2 separate regions of the Homo sapiens genome follow, and region 2 is linked to region 1. The links are contacts of gene promoters, found by promoter capture Hi-C in human tissues and cell types (Jung and others, 2019). All regions are on one chromosome and are shown on one strand. The core of a region is centred on a gene start or on the middle of the fragment in contact, and the rest is flanking DNA. Distances in the headings are between cores, read along the strand shown. Region 1 holds the start of ASH1L (ASH1 like histone lysine methyltransferase). Region 2 overlaps GON4L (gon-4 like).

Region 1 (4,166 bases), core at 517-3,016:
CTAAAGGGGAAATTTGGGACTGTCTACTTGAATTTTGGAGGTTGCAAGGGCTTTTTATTTTTATTTTTTTCCCTCAGATGGAGTTTCGCTCTTGTTGCCCAGGCTGGAGTGCAATGGCACCATCTCGGCTCACTGCAATCTCCGCCTCCCAGGTTCAAGCGATTCTCCTGCCTCAGTCTCCTGAGTAGCTGGGATTACAGGCGTCCACCACCACGCCTGGCTAATTTTTGTATTTTTAGTAGAGACGGGATTTTGCCATGTTGGCCAGGCTGGTCTCGAACTCCTGACCTCAGGTCATCCGCCCACCTTGGCCTCCCAAAGCGCTGGGATTACAAGCGTTAGCCACCGCGCCCGGCCTTGCATGGGCTTTTGAACAGTCATTTCTGAATTACTTCCTGGATCCCCAGGAGTCCACAAATGTGAAGGAAAGGGAAACCCAAGTAGATCCTTCCGGTAATTTATTCTGCTTTACCCTTTAGGTAAAGGTAAAAACTACTAGATCAAGTAAACTTTGGAATTATTTGTGGACTTTAATCGTCCGTATTTCTGCTGCATTCAATTATCAAATATCAGTCAAGTGTTTTGAGAAACAAATATTCAGTAGCCACAGAAACCTAACAGGCCTATGTTTGCTTTGTTTTATTAACTCCTTGGAGGGACAGAACACTACCAATTACACCCACAAACGTTATCGACATCAACAGAACTGTAAATGACAACACGGCAATATTCTGCACTTTCCCTATGCCTAGGAGCTAATTCCACTTTACATATATTATCTTATTATTTCACACATTAACCCTGGAGGCATGTTTGGAGTTGCCTAATTTTTATGTACACTTTTTGATAAGGAACTAACAAAAATAACTTGCTGAAGGAAGAAAAGGGAGACTAAGTCCAGAACTGAATGAAAAGCACATGGTTTCTTCATCCTCCATCACCAGGCTGTCTAACGAGGCTGAAGAAGTACCATCCATGAGTAAGTGCGTCAAGGGCAAACAAACATCATCGCATATGGACAGTGGTGTGAAATTCGAGAAATCCGAGGAGGGTTAACAACAACAAAAAGCACACCACCACGCCGATCTTCCTCGGGTCCCAGGTTGGCAACTCAACGCCCGGGAGGAATCCCCCCGGAGGCGCGCCGGTCCTACTGGCCTCACTCCCTACCTCCTGGAGGTCCGGAGTCCCGCTCCTTTCCCTCAGCGGTACAATACCCGTGTCGGTCCATTCCCTCACCGTGAGTCGAGGACTAGTTCTCCTGACTAGGCGACCGGCACACACCGCCTGCGACCAGCTCCACAGCAGCGGTCCTGCTACTGCGAAGTAGGCTCAGGTCAACCGGCAGGAAACGACTCAACGCGCAGCCGCCGCGGCCTCCAACCACCGGTGGGCAGAGGGGCGCTAGGCAGTCCTCGATCCGCTCGCCGCGATCCGGCGGAGGAGGAGGAGCAGAGGGAGGCGAGCCGCAGCGCTGCGGCGAGGAGCCCAGGGAGGTAGGTTGTCGTGGGGCTCGGTCCGCCATTCTGGCAATTCCAGTCAAACGGCAAGCCCCGACCCGCTCGGCCCGTCCCTTCCTCTCCTGCCCCTGCAGCCGACAGGAATGGAACAGTCCCGCGGGGGGGATTGTGGGAGGCGCACGCGCGAGGGGTGGAGGGTGGTAGGGGGGGCTGGCGGCGGCGGCGGCGGCCGTGGCGGCGGTTGGTGGCCGTGGGGGCGGGGAAGGGGGGGGAGGAGAGAAGAGGAGGTGGAGGAGGAGGAGGAGGAGGCTTGGGCTTGCGCCGTTGAAGGTACGCGTGAGGGCCTGCGCCGGCGCCGGCTTGACAGGGCCTGAGGGGTAGTGAGGGACTGGACGAGGGGGTTCCTGTGGGTGAGCGCGTACGGGCTGGCTGGCGCGCGGGGCGGCCGAAGGTGGTGGTTGGTGGGAGCAGCCAGCGACGAGCCCGTAGACACTCGTACGCGTGCGGGCGGGCGTGCGCGCTACGCGGACGGAGTCGGGCGGAGCGGGGGACGGTGGGAAAGAACGCAAGGAGGAAGGAGTGGAAGGTTGAGGGGGGCGCTAGGCGCCCTTCGCTCCCTCCCTCTGGAGGAGCTGCCGCCGCCACCGCCGCCACTCTGCTGCTGCCGCCGCCGCCGCCGCCGCTCCCGCCGCCATTTTGGGTTCGCTTTGCGGAGGGGAGACGATCCCAGTCTCGGTTGCGGGACCCGCCTCCCCTCAGTTTGCCCCCTTTAGCCTTCCACCTTTCCCTTCTCCTCTCTCGCATTTCCGCCAGTCAGCTTACCCGCTGGCCGCCTCCTGACAAGCGGGAGGGATCCGCCGTGGACCCAGGGAAGCGGAGGAGCCTGGCGGCCACCCCCTCTTCCCCACTTCCCTGCACTCTCATCGCTCTCGGCCTCGGCCTCGGCCTCCGACACGGTGAGTAGAACGATTTGGGCCGGCATTCGGGCCTAAGCACTCTCTCAGCGATTGAATCCTGGGCTTTCTGGGAGCCACTGTCATCTCCCGGACCTGGATCTCTGAGAGAGCAGTGGTGAAGATGGGGGAGGGGAGAGCAGGGAGGGGGATCCTGAGCCTACCGGGAAGTCCCTCCAGGCGGGGTGAAGGGGTGTCCCTGACAGGCAGACTCCCGGAGGGGGCTGGGAAGTAAGCGAGTGGAGGCGGAGTCGGCTGTGCCCCTGACAGGTTAGTTTGTGTTTGTAGGCATGATCGGAGCCTCCCCCATAGTCCAGTTTGTGTGTGTTTAATTAAGGGATAAGAGTGGTCGAGGACACGATCTTGAGAGGGGATTTTACCTGTGTGACAAGGTCTGTGGTGTCCCTGCCGCGTTGAACGGTATGTGGGAACGACAGGATGATCTCAGTGTTGTAAGTTTAATAAATGTCACTGGTTAGTTTGTACATGGAAAGAGATGTTTTTGGTCTAGCAGACAGATGGTCTGTTGGTGTGTAGCGGCTGTGTTGGTGTGTGTATGTGAGGATGGCAAGTGTTTCCGTAAGAGTTTGCCTTTATTTGTGTAAGTGTAATGGAGTTCCCCTTATAAGTTAGCTTATTTCTTGAATAAATGTTGGGAGGTTCCTTGCAGGTTGATATGTGTGTGTATTTTAGGGATTGGGAGCCCCTAGTTACTTGTTGGGAAAGAGCGGCAATGGTAGTGTTCTGTACAGCATGTGTCTGTGAGGTCAGGGAGGGGAGAAACTTGGCATAGCCAGTTGTGGTCTTAAGAATAGTTTGTGCCTTTGGTTAGAGTGAGTTGTGTAAATGTGAAGGGCCAAAATATCTTTAACAGAATCATTACTACAAAGTTGTAAAGAATGGGTGGCCTTATTTGTTGTCGCGGGTTTATAGTAATAGTTTACAATACAATAAGAAAGCTCTTTCAGTTTTTTTGTGATACTGAATCTCTGTGAAAATGGTAGGATGCTTTCTTCCATTTTACAAAATAGGAAATTTAGGCATAAGGAGAGAACTTCTCCAAGGCCGCATGTTAAATTGGTGACAAAGTTGGAACTGTAACTCCCATATTTTCACTACTACTGCAGCAGTATATTCAGCATACCATGGTGCCTCAGGAAGTCTTTGTCGGCAAATCTGAGTATGCTGGAAAGATAGGAGCACATAAGACTGGTTGGCTTGTATTTGGGGGAGACCGATTGTGTCAGATATGTATGTGGAACGTAGCTGTCCTTGCCGAGTCTGACCTGTATGAAATGCATATCCATGACTATATTATTTTGGATTTATGGAGGAAGCAGAGCATTTCTGACACTTGAGGTTGTATGTGTGAGGGAGAGAAGGCTTTCACAGCTTAACTTGTACCAGAGCAGCTGCATGGGTGCTGACAGCTTAACTTGAAATCTGTGGGAGGAAGGATCCTTTTTCATTCATTCAACAAATATTTGTTGACTGCCTGTTCAATAAATGGTCCATGCCTTGGCGTGAGGATAATCAAGGTGTCTCTGTAAATAGCCTGGGTACAACGTGAGGGGAGTTGTTTTGACAGTGGTGGGTATTAAGTTGAGGGAGGCGGTGTGGAATTAAAACCAGAGAACTGTTTTTGGGTTCTGGTAATTGTTAATACATGTGCCTGTGGATGTTGGAACTTCTTGGCTGGGCTGAAGGAATCCTTTGAAAGACTCATTTCATATAGTAAGAATCCCCTCTATGA
Region 2 (4,166 bases), core at 683-3,182, 210 kb before region 1:
TATTTCAAGGAATCCCCGATATTACAGCAGTAGATAAATAAGAAAATGTAGTATCCCACCAGGGAATACTATACAGCCATAAAAAGGTATGATATCATGTCCGTTTCAGGGACATGGATGGAGGTGAAGCCATCAGCAAGCTAACGTAAGAACAGAAAAACAACACTGCATGTTCTCACTTATAAGTAGGAGCTGAACAATGAGAACACATGGGCACAGGGTGGGGAACAACACACACTGGGGCCTGTTGGGGGAGCGGGGGAAGGGAGAGGATCAGGATAAACTGCTAATGCAGCTGCACTTAATACCAAGGTGATGGGTTGATAGGTGCAGCAAACCACCAAGGTGCACGTTTACCTGTGTAACAAACCTCCATGTCCTGCACATGTATTCTGAAACTTAAAATTAAAATTTTGAGGGCTAGGCATGGTGGCTTACGCCTGTAATCCCAGCACTTTGGGAAGCCGAGATGGGTGGATCATGAGGTCAGGAGATGGAGACCGTCCTGGCTAACACAGTGAAATCCCATCTCTACTAAAAATACAAAAAATTAGCTGGGCGTGGTGGCACGTGCCTATAGTCCCAGCTACTTGGGAGGGTGAGGCAGGAGAATTGCTTGAACCCTGGAGGCGGAGGTTGCAGTGAGCTGAGATCGTGCCACTGCACTCCAGCCTGGGCGACAGAGCGAGACTGTGTCTCAAAAAATATTTAAATTTTGAAAAAAAAATGCAAGGCAGTGCAGCCTGAGTGGATAGGGAAATGGGACAAGCTGAACCTGGGATGGGAGTAACAAGTAAATGAGAGAAGAAATGAGAATGATGAGTTCCCACCAGCTCCTTGGCTGCTTTCTTATCCAGATATTTCTCTGTTCCTAGCATTTTAATTTTTTCTTTATTTGTATATTATTTAGAAGAGGAATTTTAGAGGAATGGGATAGAGTGTAATATAGAATCATCATATTTGATGCATGCTAACTACTTTGGCAAAAGATTTGTAAAAGGCTGAGAGTTTGACTGTTGGCTAAAGTGAGATGGGGGATTAGTAGGGAATGAAAATTGTTCAGGCTCTTTGCTCATCATTGGAACGAATTGGATGTGTTGTGGACCTACGGAAACACTCAAATTCAGTCATCTCCCTGTTGGGAATAGGTTTGAGGAACCACTGGCCAACCTGTTAAATGAACAACATCGGACAGTGAAGGAGCTATTTGAACAGCTGAAGATGAAGAAATCTTCAGCCAAACAGCTGCAGGAAGTAGAGAAGGTTAAACCCCAGAGTGAGAAAGTTCATCAGACTCTGATTCTGGACCCAGCACAGAGGAAGAGACTCCAGCAGCAGATGCAGCAGGTAGGACTTTTCTTGGTCATGTTAACATTGGATTTTTTTTTTTGAGACAGAGTCTGGCTCTGTCTCCCAGCCTGGAGTGCAGTGGCCCGATATCGGCTCACTTCAACCTCTGCTTTCTGGGCTCAAGCATTTCTCCTGCCTCAGCCTCCCAAGTAGCTGGGATTACAGGCATCCACCACCACACCCAGCTAATTTTTGTATTTTTAGTAGAGACAGGGTTTCACCATATTGGCCAGGCTGGTCTCGAACTCCTGACCTTGTGATCCGCCCGCCTCGGCCTCCTAAAGTGCTGGGATTACAGGCGTGAGCCACTGCGCCCTGCTGTTAATACTGGATTATACCAAGGCCTAACTCTGAGGCCAGAAATTAACAGCTTTGTAAAAGTCAGAGATAGTTACCTTACCACCTCCTAAAACCATAGTATCTTCACATCATTAGGAGCTCGAGAAGTCATCATGTTCATGCCTTATGGCTCAAGGAAGAGAGCACACAAGGACACTAATGGTATTCAGAAATATAGATTTCAAAGAGTCCTTAGTAATCTATTCTGAAATTTAACAACCTTCACTGTGAGAAGTAGGTTTGTTTTTCCTTTTTCTAACCTCAGTCCCTCTGGATTGAGGTTAAGCTTCCTCTGGTTCTGTCATTTTGTTCAAGGGAACATGTCTGAGAGATTTATGCCAAGATCCTATGTTATTTTCATACTCCTTTCAGAAAGCAAAATATATGTGATAAAGTTGCAAACATCTTGGTTATTGTCTCTCTGGGGGCTGGGTTACGGTGGCTCACACCTGTAATCCCAGCACTTTGGGAGGCTGAGGTGGGAGGATTGCTTGAGCCAGGGAGTTCGAGAGCAACCTGAGCAACATAGTGAGACCCTGTCTCTGCAAAAAATAAAAATAAATTAGCCAGGCATGGTGCCATGCATCTGTGGTCCCAGCTACTCAGGAGGCTGAGGTGGGAGGATTGCTTGAGCACAGGAAGTTGAGAGGGCGTGGAGCCATGATTGCATCACTGCACATCAGCCTGAGTGACAGAGAGAGATCCTTTCTCCAAGAAGAAAAAAAAAAAAGATCTCTCTGGATTCCTGAAATGACAATGTGGTAACATGTCACTTCATCATTTTCTTTCCATCCCCAGCACGTTCAGCTCTTGACCCAAATCCACCTTCTTGCCACCTGCAACCCCAACCTCAATCCGGAGGCCACTACCACCAGGATATTTCTTGTAAGTTTCCAAATATCCATAACTCTAAAGACTAGAGTATGAAATTAGCTTGGCAGGTTATTTCTCAGTTATTCACTGATCATAATCTATATTTATTCTTCTCTCGGGTATTTTTGATTGTTTTGCCTGCTTTCTGTTAAGGCTTCCTGTGTTTGCTGAGAGAACGTAAGCCACTGATTCCCATGAAAGGACAAGGAGTGTATTCAATTTTCTTAATACTGTCTTTCTGATATTTTTATTGAATCCTCCTCATCTTTAGATCCAACCTAACTTCTTAGGTTTTTGGTACCACTGTTCGTTTTATAGATGTTGAGACTGGGCACGGTGGCTATGCCTGTAATCCCAGCACTTTGAGAAGCCAAAGCAGGCAGATTATATGACCCCAGTAGTTCCAGACTAGCTGGGGCAACATGCCGAAAGCCCGTCTCTACAAAATACAAAAATTAACCAGATGTGGTGGTGCGTACCTGTAGTCTCAGCTACTTGGGAGGCAGAGGTGGAAGGATAGCTTGAGCCTAGGAGGTGAGGGTTACAGTGAGCTGAGATCGCGCCACTGCACTCAAGCCTGGGCAGCAGAGTGAGACCCAGTCTCAAAATAAATAAATAAATAAAATAAAAGTAATAGTCCTAATTCTTGGCTGGGTGCGGTGACTTGTGCCTGTAATCTCAGCACTTTGGTAGGCTGAGGTGGCTGGATCACTTGAGGTCAGGAGTTCGAGAACAGCTTGACCAACATGGTGAAATCCAGTCTCTACTTAAAATACAAAAAATAGCCGGGCGTGGTAGCGGGCGCCTGTAATTAATCCCAGCTACTCGGGAGGTAGATGGAGAAGAATCGCTTGAGCCCAGGAAGTGGAGACTTCAGTGAGTCAAGATCGCACCACTACGCTCCAGCCTGGGCGACAGAGCGAAACTCCGTCTCGAAAAAAAAAAAAAAAATGAGTCCTCATTCTTCATAATCTTACTTCTAGTTCAGGAGCTAGACCATATATTCCTTAGTGTTTCTCACTAAGTCTAAAAGTAAAACAAGAATACAATCCCTGAATATCTGGGAACTCAGGCATAATCTTAACAGAGTAGTTTATTGTGAAAGACTTTATGATGATTTTTACCTGTTTTTATCCTGTAGTAGGAAGGTCAGCTTCTCATTTAGATTCTGAAGGCTACTGGTATTAATTGTCTGGAATTGTCTTAAATCTTTCTTGTGTCCTGTTTTCCCAGAAAGAGCTGGGAACCTTTGCTCAAAGCTCCATCGCCCTTCACCATCAGTACAACCCCAAGTTTCAGACCCTGTTCCAACCCTGTAACTTGATGGGAGCTATGCAGCTGATTGAAGACTTCAGCACACATGTCAGCATTGACTGCAGCCCTCATAAAACTGTCAAGAAGACTGGTAGGAGACAGATGTGTCAGCTTTAAGTTTTTACTTGCGGTGAGAGGTGGTGGGAATCTTATCCCATAGATAACTAAGGATACTTGCCTAGGAATGGAGGACACAGGACATTTGTAATTTCTTCCTTCTCTCTTTTATCCTCCCTTTGTACTCATTATCCAAGTTCTAGAATTACATGATAATCTCTGGGCCTGGGTAA

The links. The method cuts DNA at HindIII sites, captures the fragments that hold promoters and counts their contacts. A contact is called where the count stands out against the background at its distance.
Region 2: a contact is called between a fragment that was not itself captured here and the fragment with the promoter of ASH1L in region 1, in 2 of the 25 tissues and cell types used here (liver and lymphoblastoid cells).

The regions. Positions count from the first base shown.
Region 1 is chr1:155,560,403-155,564,568 of GRCh38, reverse strand. ASH1L (ASH1 like histone lysine methyltransferase) reads left to right here and starts at 1,766. Exons shown (of 28, transcript NM_018489.3): 1 at 1,766-2,416. ASH1L-AS1 (ASH1L antisense RNA 1) reads right to left here and starts at 2,527. Exons shown (of 2, transcript NR_147964.1): 1 at 2,283-2,527; 2 at 625-1,319. It also overlaps a transcript of MSTO1 not described here. RefSeq lists silencers at 257-551, 1,636-1,775, 1,826-1,975, 3,697-3,991 and an enhancer at 1,180-1,747. The HindIII fragment of the contact is 36,648 bases long and covers 1-4,166 here.
Region 2 is chr1:155,774,803-155,778,968 of GRCh38, reverse strand. It overlaps GON4L (gon-4 like), which reads left to right. Exons shown (of 32, transcript NM_001282860.2): 15 at 1,149-1,347; 16 at 2,488-2,574; 17 at 3,796-3,967. Among named protein-coding and RNA genes, the nearest start is that of GON4L, 80 kb to the left of the region's middle. The HindIII fragment of the contact is 9,147 bases long and covers 1-4,166 here.